2 separate regions of the Homo sapiens genome follow, and region 2 is linked to region 1. Evidence: promoter capture Hi-C in 16 types of primary human blood cells and fetal thymus (Javierre and others, 2016). All regions are on one chromosome and are shown on one strand. The core of a region is centred on a gene start or on the middle of the fragment in contact, and the rest is flanking DNA. Distances in the headings are between cores, read along the strand shown.

Region 1 (4,690 bases), core at 1,821-4,320:
ATTAACTATCTAATGAATGTTGGTTTTCCTCCCTTCTCTCAACACATGGTTCACACCAGCACTGCATAGGTGCTGCATGACTGCAAGTACAGACGTGAATTACCGTGAGTTTCCGAGGGGTTGGTAAAGGCCAGAAAGTACTCAGAGAAAACTATGGCTTTAAAGGAACTTCCAACAGCCTGATGTGTTGAGCCAAAGCACTCCCGCCCCGTTTTCTCTTCTTACGAAAGAGGAAGTGAGATTAACTTTACCATTTAGGAAAGTACAGAGGAGCCCCCAGAGTGCCACCCTCTACCAAACGGTGAGAGGTTCACTGGGGGGCCCCGCTGCTCCCCAGAGCCTGAACTGCAACTTGGCTTGGCCTCCTCCAGGCCAGAGAGAAGAAATGAATGGGAGTTTATCTGAGGTCGGCCTGGGGGGTGACTCAGAGGTCTCAAGGCCTACCTGGGGCCAAGCAGGCATCCTGCGGGTTCAGCGTCAGGCCCTGCTGACACAAAATCAGGTGCCAGGTGTCCCCAGGCCTCAGTCCCTTGCCCTTCTCCCAGCCTCAGAATCTCCCTCAGTGCAGTTGTTTTAGGAAACAGGCCTCACATTGGGTCCAAAAACATAGGTTGGTGACTTCACTGGGATCTTTTTAGAATTTCCCTTTGGCAGCATTTGTGCTAAAAGCAATCTTTAGAAACTTCTTCTCTTGCCTCCCCCACCCAGGATAATTCACATGATTGGCCCCACCCCCCCAAAACAGTGATCATGTGAAGACACAGGAATCATGTGACACCTCCCAGGCTGACAGTTCTGCCTGAGACACTAGTAGTCATTCAATCCAAAGCCGCCTTCCTAAACCTGACATTTTAGTTTCTCACTCGAACAAATCCATTTTCTTAGAAAATTGGACAACTGCCTCCTTGTACCTTCCTACCCTCATATCCTGTCTCTCTACTTCTTTGTTGTAAATTCCATGTCTGGAGCAATAGGGGGAGGGGCCTGAGGCCCCATCCTTCAGCCAAACCAGGTGACTTCCCTGCCCAGGCCCATGGTGTGACCAGGACCCCGAAGAACAGATACTGAAGGATAATGGGAGACTTGAGCTATGATGGTCGCACCTCATCCCTTCCCCACCACCCTCGACCAAGAAATTCATTCTTACCTCCTAAGATTTATTTATTTCAAAGCTAATCTTGGCCCCTCTGCTGCTCCCACTTTTTCAGGCTATTGATGCTGAATGGATTGGAACGGAAGTTTTATGGCCCAATCTTTACCATCTTATAGACTGTTTTTATAGGCAAAAGGGGGAGATGTGCTCACAAGAAAGGTGTTGGTGTTCCCAGCCGGTGCCCCAGGAAAGGCAGGCTGCCCATCGGAGCACTTGCTAATCAGCGTCACTGCTCGTTTGCCAGGGACTGAACCACAGCCTCCTGGTCGGAGAAGGGTCTGGAATAGACATTTAGAAATTAACTCGGGCCCAATTCCCTGCTTCAGGAAAATTAAGCACTTGTGAGTGACACTTGTGCATTTCCAGGCCAGGAAGGATGGCAGGGCAGGAACTCGGACTTTTGCAGGGTACAAATGGCCAGCTCAGGCAGGAAGGAGCAGATAGGAGATGCCACTCACTGGAGAGACGTGAACTGTATCAGTGCTCCCTTCAGCCCAGCAAGGACGCAACTATAACTGAAAAGAACTGGGGGTGGAGGGTGGGGTGGGGTGGGGGGATGCCTATGTGAATTCCTGGGTTTCAGGGGAAACTGCAGGGCAGAGAGAAGCAGCTGTCTACCCCCCATACTTCTCCTTCCACCCACTCTTTGCTAGTTCTCCCTTTCTCCCTGCTATCAGATGGTTACCATCTCTAGTCAAACGCAAAAGGGGGTGTTGGACACTGAGCTCATCTTTACCTCCCTCCTCAAGGGTGGGAGGTACAGAGAGACCCCACTGCCTACAACACAGTTTCAAGACGACAAAAAACAAGATCCCCATTTTTCTCTCCCTCCCAACTCCCTTAATGCCATTTCTCTGCTCCCCCCGCCCCCCACCCGGTGCCCTCCCAGGAGACCCATGGTTTTGCAAAACCCATTTAAGAAGCAAGACTCCTGAATGGTGACCTCACCCTTTGGTGAACATGCACAGTAGCCTTCAGAGCCCGCCTGCCGGCGACAGCCAGGTGTTTGATGTAGGCCAACAGAAAGACATGGTCAGAGCCACAGGTAACATCCCCGCGGAGCACCTGAACTGCAGGGAGCTGCCTGGAAGCTCGGGGAAGGCAGGAGGAAGGGGGAGCTGGGAGCGCCTCAAGGAGCAAGACCACCAGGGAGAGGCTTTGGCAACCACAGGGACAATCCACCGTGTTTTTACATAAGGATCTGTTGCTCGCAGCAGCTCGCTCTGGGGTTACCGCGGCCTCCCGGCTCCCTCTCTCCCAGGCACACACTAACACCGGTTTACTCTGCGCACCAGAGGGAGGGCTCACTCTTCCCTAATTGCAACAGCTTGTCTCTGTTCCATTCCAGGCAGCATCGGGAGGACCTCTGCCCTCACCTCCTCCCCTCACACCCTGAAGTCAAACATGTGGAAAGTCGTATGTCCATGGGGACAGATTCTGGGGAAGCCGGACGGCCCTGCTCTGAAAGCCACTGTCAGTCAGCCTTCCCCATTGGACCGGGCAGGGGCTGAGTGAAGCAACTCGGCTCTTTTGTCTCAGTGCCCAGCACAGTGCACAGAGTCAGAGTCCACAGAGACAAACTCTCATAGAAGAGACTTGGGTTCTACCCTTGGCTGTGTGACCTTGGGCATGTCGCTGGCCCTCTCTGGGCCTCAGTTTCTGCATCTATAACCCTGGTTACAGGCGTCTCTCCCCCTATTACTGCTCGGCATTAGCCGAAGGGGTCCCAGTGCCAGTCTGAGAGGCCTGAGCCCGCAGTTTGGGGAGTGCAGCGGTGGGGAGCGGGGGGGTGCTTACCTGACCAGGCGCAGGACGCGGCGAGCAGCAGGCAGAGCAGCGGCCCGAGGCGGCCGGGGGCCGGGCCGGCGGGCTCCATGGGCCGCGGCTGCGGAGCGAGGAGGGAGAGCGGCCGTGAGTGCGCGCTCGGGCGGGAGCAGGCTGGAGCGGGGAAATGACTAAGGCTCCCCCCCTTCCCCCCTCCCGGCTGGGCCTCCCCCCGACTCCGGAACGGGCGCCTGGAGCGGCCGCCGCCGCCGCCGCGGTTTTTGGAGACCCCCCCTCCCCGCCCCCCAGGAGAAATGGAGAGACGGAGACTGGGAGAGACCCCAAGCGCGCGAGAAATAAAGCCAGGGGCGGCCAGAGAGAGGCGGCAGGAGAGAGAAACAGACCCAAGGGAGCCAGGCAGAGAGCCAGAGACACGGAGAGGCGAGAGGGGGAGAAAGAGGGGGAGAGCGAGGAGCGAGGAGCGAGGCGGCGCGCAGACCGACAGACCGCGCGGGAGAGAGGACCGCGCGAGCAGGGGCGAGGGGCAGCACGGCCGAGCCCGGCCGCGCGGAGCCGCCCCCGCCGCTGCCCACCTGCCCCGCCCGGGCTCCACACGGCGCGGGCGGCTGGGCTCGCTCCCGGCCCGCAGTCCCGGCCGCTGCCCCCGCCCTCCCGGCAGCCCGACCCCCTCCCTCCTTCCCTTTCCCCTCCTCCCGTCTTCCCGCCGCCCGGGGAGGCTTCGGGGCTCCGGCCCCGCCGGCACCTTCTCTGCGAGCGAGCGCCCGCCTGCGCGCCCCGGGGGAGGGAGCGAGGGCTGCGAGCTGCGCGCCCGGCCGGGGAGGGCAGCGTCCTCCCCCGCGCCGGCGCCCGGGCCCCGGCTGCTGTCCCGGGAAGGCGGCCCCGCGAGCCGCCGCGGCCCGCTGGGGCTCGGGACTAGACGAGCCTCCGGCTCCGACAGCGTGCCCGTTCAGAAGCCCGCGCGGCTGGTCCCCAGCCCCGACCGGTCCCGCTCTGCCCCTCCCCGTCCCTGCCGGGCCCGGACCTGCGCCGCCCGCGAGGGCTGGAAGGCACTGGAAGCGCCGCCGGGGCTGCCCAGAGGCCGGGTCCCCGCTCCACTTTGCGCAAACTTGTTTTTCTAAGGTCAGCGCTGCGAGCTGGCTACATCGTCCTCTTAAGGTGGACCGGGGAAGTTGCGGCCGACCTCCCCTCGCCTCCGGACTCCGGCCGCGCGGCTGCTCCCCGCTTCCCACTGGCGAGAGGCTGGAGGCGGCGAAGGAGTCGGGGCGCGGGGGCGCGGGGGGCGGGGGGGCGTCTGCCTTTTAACCCTCCCCAGGAGGTCGTGCCTCTGAGCCCCAAAGCTGAAGGCCCCTCTTGGGGGTGGGTGCGGGCCGGAGGGGCCCGATCCTTTCAGAGCCGGGCCGAGGTGAAGGAAAAGAAGGAAGTAAGTGAACGCAGGGGGAAGGGGAGAGGAAGAAGAGATGATGGTACAAAAATAGCGTGTGTGTAGGAAGGACTTCGGTGCCGCCTGGAAAAGAGGCGCGGGGAGGAGAGGGAGCGAGAAGGGGGCTGTGGCGCGCAACCAGAGGGGAAGGGTCGGGGCCTTCCCAGGGAGGTGGAGGCCCCCTGGCCAGGTGTCTCGGTGGTGGAGGGCGGACTGGGCGGGTGGGAGGCCCAGGCCGGGGCGTGTGTGGGAGAGCGGGGCCCTGAAGGCCTGGGTTCCGGGAGAAGGACAAGCCCTGAGGAAGATGAGGGGAAGGGGAGCCGGGGCCAGAG
Region 2 (4,622 bases), core at 882-3,381, 110 kb after region 1:
ACAGGGTTTCTCCATGTTGGTCAGGCTGGTCTCGAACTCCTGACCTCATGATCCGCCTTCCTTGGCCTCCCAAAATGCTGGGATTACAGGCATGAGCCACTGCACCTGGCCCAGTGTCCCTTTTCTGAAGAGCTAGCAACTCTCTGTCCTCTCTGGGCCCTCAGCCTGTTAGGCCAGCACAGGGGCCCATATTCATGATGAGGGCTCTTGGGTCCCCAGCTCCTATAAAAGGTTGTGCTTATAGAGTACGTGACAGCCAGTTCTTGCCGGTGCTAGAATAAGGAAGGAGACTGACGTGACTCTACTCAGAGGAAGCCAAGCCTTACCCAGTGGACGCATGGCCCAGCCTGGGCTAGCCCTGTGGGTACTTTGGCATTCCTCAGGCCACTCCTTGGAGAACCTCATCTTCTCCACTTCCCCTTCAGCCTTCCAGCCCCACAAGGCAGGCTGCCCATGGCTGCCCACCCACTGCAGCTTAGCCCTAGTGTTGCCAGTCTTCTCCTTCTGTGTAGATGGTGTGATTAAGCTGGAGGGCTGAGACAGGAGCCCTGAAGGAAGCCCACTTCCTCCAGGAAGGCTTCTCTGCTTTCTCAGTGGGATTGCTTCCTTCTGTCCCTTGCCCTGTAGCACATACCTTCCTCTTAGTCTGTTTATCCATGGATCCACCCATCCATCCACCCATCCATCCATCCACCCACCCATCCATCCATCCAACAAACATTCATCCGGCACTTATTTACACTAGTGACCAAGGACATGGTCCCTGTCCTCCAGAGCCTACAGTCTAATAAGGGAAAGAGTTATTATGCAACTAGTTTCAAGTTAACAGTTTAATTATAACTGTGATAAATGCTCTGCAAGAGAAGTATTTGAACCCACAGGGAGACATTAGGGTAGAAAAGACTTCCCTGATGAAGAATGTTTCACCCAAGACCTCACTGTCGACTATGGTAGCCAGTAGCCACACGTGACTATTGAGTGTCTGAAATGTGGCTAGTGTCACCAAGGAACTGAGGGTAGATGAATAATTTTACCAAACTTTATAAAGTAACTATTCTGTGTCAGGCCCTGCCCAGTCCAAACTAGTCTGGTTGAAAATGCCAACATTACATCTAGTTCAGCGTCCACTTCCTTCTCTCACCCCAGCCCACTGCTGCCTCCAAGTCCCTGCTGAGGGATCTGGAAGGGATGGAGGTGAAGCATTCTTTTGTCCCTCCTCCTTTCCCTGAATTGGGTCTGTCTATCATCTGGTGTGTTAGGGCCTGGGAAGGGAGATGGAAAAAGAGGGACTTCTTTTACCCAGCAATGCTCTGTTCACTATGGCTGGACTCTGGAAGCCAGCTGCCTCCTAGGGCACAGGTGTGGATTCCTAGGAGGATCCTGAATGTGTGCATGTGTGCATGCATGTGCACGTGTGTGTGCCCATGTGTGTATGCTGTGGGGGTACACAGTCTGCTGCACAGTCTCTTTTATGCATGATCTGATCCAGGTTCACAGCTCCCCGCTGGAGTCCATGCTGCAGTCTCTTACTCCTAGGCCCTCTTGCCAGTGGTCATCTCTCTTGAGTGGGATGCTCTAAGGTCGGCTCCCCCCTTTCAATGAGGGTCTCTCCATGGACCTCACCCCCTTGCCACTCTGCATGGAGGAAGCTTGAGCTGCTGCCCTGCCACCCCGTCACTCTACCCTGCTGTCTCTTTTCAGTTCCTTTTTCTCCTGCTCAGGGCAACATCAAGGTGGATCAGCAAATCCACTGTTGCTTCAGGAGACACCTGGAAAAAGAAAAGCCAGCCTCCTCCTCCTGCAGGCACGTAATATCTAGGAGTCATTTTGGGGTGCCTTGCTTGGCTGAGTAGTGGTGGGGGGTTGTGAGGTCAGGGGAGTTTCCATAACAGCCTCACCCAGGCTAGAAAACTCCTCTCTAGCCTCTCCCTCCACTTTAGCTGAGCGTACAGACCCCAAAGAGATGGGATGGCTGGGGAGCAGGCTGGGCTTGGCTGCTTTGTAATCAGTCTTGAGAACATACCTGGCCCCAAAGGTTCATTTGTTATTAGCGAGTATCTATTCTGTGCCCAGCACTGTGTGGCTGCTGGTTACAGCCATGAACAAAAAGCAGTAGTCTTCAGGGCAAATCATTTGTTTTTCATGAGGGAAATGGATAAAAACGAGTAATATACATCAGGGCTAACCATTGGAAAGCCCAGTAACGTAGGGTAAGGAAATGGAGAGAGACCAAAGGGAGAGGTTGTTTTCATAGGGAGGTCAGGGAAACTGGTGGCTGTGTTTCAAACTCATGTTTCCCCAACGTGGAGCCTAGTAGACAGTTCTGGGCCATGGGAAATCCGTGCCACCATTGTCCAAGCCCAGTTAAGCTGTGAGGCAAGGGTTGGGTTTCAAAGTCTAGGGTCTTTCTTGGTTGCACGTGGTTGTGTATGTCAAGGCTCACTTCTCAACCCTCTGGGCCCATATCTGATCCATTCTGCATTCCCAGAAGCCGTGTCTGGGCCTGGGACAGGGCAGGCTCTTGATGCTGCTTGTTCAGCATGGAGGAGCCTCCAGGACAAGGGACATCAAGGCTCAGCCTATCAGAGGCCAGCTCTGTGGCTTGAAGCTTGAGGCAGAGCTCAGCCGCTTTCTGGTTTTGCTCATGGGGAATCAGGGACAGTCGGAACCCATTAAAAGGCTCCAGATGCCTCCCTGGTTAGACACCTCAGGCCTGAAGGTTTGCAGCTTGGAAGGAGGCCGTGGCCACAGTGACCACTTCCCTCACTGTGGCTCAGGCCTCTGTTCCAGGCATGGCAGAGAATGGGGTGGGGTAGGCAGCTGGGAAGTATAAGGCCTGCTCCAGGCTGTCAGAGGCTGGTCAGTGGCTCCTGGGCTCTTTCAGGGCCTTATCCAGTGGTTGCCACCAGGAACAGACCAGGAGCACTGTGAGTCTCTCACCATGGCTACCACACCTGGGCGGGCCCTGGGCTCCCTCCTGCCCACCCTTCTGCTGGGACTCACAGGTGAGTCCTGATTCCTGCCCAGAGAGACCCTCAGGGCAGGCAAGGAGACCCCCAGGAATGACCAAATCCAGCCACTGTGTCTTTCTGAAGGAAGACTGAGGCTCAGAGGAGGTGACTGAGCTGTTTTCCTGCCAGTCAGGTGCTGTTTTGCATCTTTTCTTCAATGTAGACCTTGCGGACAAAGGGAGCTGGTGGGAGCTTGGGGGTCAGAAGAGGAAGTGACCTAAGGGTGAGGGGCTCGGGGGAGGTCAGGGGGTAAAAGAGGAGCCCACCTCCCAGTTTTCCCGATGTCAGCTCTAGTCTGGGTGGCTACCTGTTCTGGGTCAGAGAGGGTGTAAGGGTGGAAAAGACAGAGCGAGAGAAAGAAAGAGAGAGAGAGAAAAAAAAGAGAGAGAGAGAAGTCGCCAGAGTGATGGAGCCTCCGGCATTGGAGGCATGGAAGAGTCCTGGACCCAAAGTCAGACAGGCCTTCTTACCCTCCCTCTTTAGTCACTGATAGGCTGTGTGACCTTGAGCAAGTCACGAGACCTTTCTGAATCTCTGTTTCCTTTTCTGGAAAGTGAGGACAATAATACCAGCCTCCCACAGCTGAGATGTGGAAGAAAAGAAGCACACATGGCTGAAAATGTTTTCTGAACCACACGGTGCTGTGTGCAGGGTGGGTGATGAGGGCAGAGCACAGTCCAGAAGGTACCAGAGCTGTGTGCTAAGAGGACAAGTTCCTATGGCCTCCTGCGCTGCCCTCTGCCTGTCATCCTGCTTGTCATTGGTTGTTTATTTGCCTTTCACCCCCATCTGACCAGATGCTTCTCAAGGGTGGGGGTCCTGTCTGACTCATCTCTGTGGTCTCAGCACCCAGCTCTTGACCTGGTGCAGAGCAGGGGCTTAGGGAATGCTGTGAAGACTTGGGGAGTTTCTTGCTCCAGAGCTCTGCAAGGCTGTCCTTAGAAGGAGGGGTGAGTCTCATCCTGCAGTTTTCCTGGGAAAATTCTGGGAGACAGATCCCAGGTTATATCCCAGAAGCAGGAAATATTTTGTCATAGTCCTAGCTGGGTGTGAGGGTGAATGGAGCTGCTTCTCATGGAGACAGCTCCCTGTCACTGCAGGTAAGCAAGCAGACAACGGGGGTCTAGTGAAGTGTTGATGGGAGGCACCCGAGTAGGGGGGCCAACCATCCCTGTTGGGGTGATTCTTGACTTTACACTCAAGTCCTTATAAACTTACATCCACAATGGAAATCCTGATTCATCACCATTCCCTTCCTATCCCAACTTGGTCCTTCTCCAGATCTTCCCAGCTCAAAAAGTAGAGCTACCACCCACACAGCTGCTCTAGAGAAAACCTGGGAATTGTTGATCCAGAATTCATTCTGTCCCTCACCCCCCATCCCGCCCATCACTGAGTCCTGTGGGCTGTATCTTCCAAATGTGTCTCGAGCCTCCTTTTCTCACCACCCTAGTCCAGGCTACCATCACCTTGGCCTGGAGGTCTGTACCAGCTTCCCCACTGGTCTCCCTGCTTCCATTCCTGCCACGCTCCTTCCCATTCTCCACACAACAACCCCAGTTATCCTCTAAAAAATGTACATCAGACCACTTTGCCCCTCTGTTAAAGTCT

Evidence for each region. The method cuts DNA at HindIII sites, captures the fragments that hold promoters and counts their contacts. A CHiCAGO score of 5 or more calls a contact.
Region 2: a contact is called between a fragment that was not itself captured here and the fragment with the promoter of SIRPA in region 1, in 2 of 17 cell types (monocytes and neutrophils). The highest score is 8.4, in monocytes.

The regions. Positions count from the first base shown.
Region 1 is chr20:1,893,787-1,898,476 of GRCh38, reverse strand. SIRPA (signal regulatory protein alpha) reads right to left here and starts at 3,070. Exons shown (of 8, transcript NM_001040023.2): 1 at 2,951-3,070. The coding sequence starts at 3,029. LOC102724545 (a long non-coding RNA gene) reads left to right here and starts at 4,227. Exons shown (of 4, transcript NR_186374.1): 1 at 4,227-4,358. RefSeq lists an enhancer at 1,910-2,425 and silencers at 3,717-3,836, 3,847-4,106. The HindIII fragment of the contact is 10,599 bases long and covers 1-4,690 here.
Region 2 is chr20:1,780,511-1,785,132 of GRCh38, reverse strand. No RefSeq gene overlaps it. Among named protein-coding and RNA genes, the nearest start is that of SIRPA, 110 kb to the left of the region's middle. The HindIII fragment of the contact is 959 bases long and covers 1,652-2,610 here.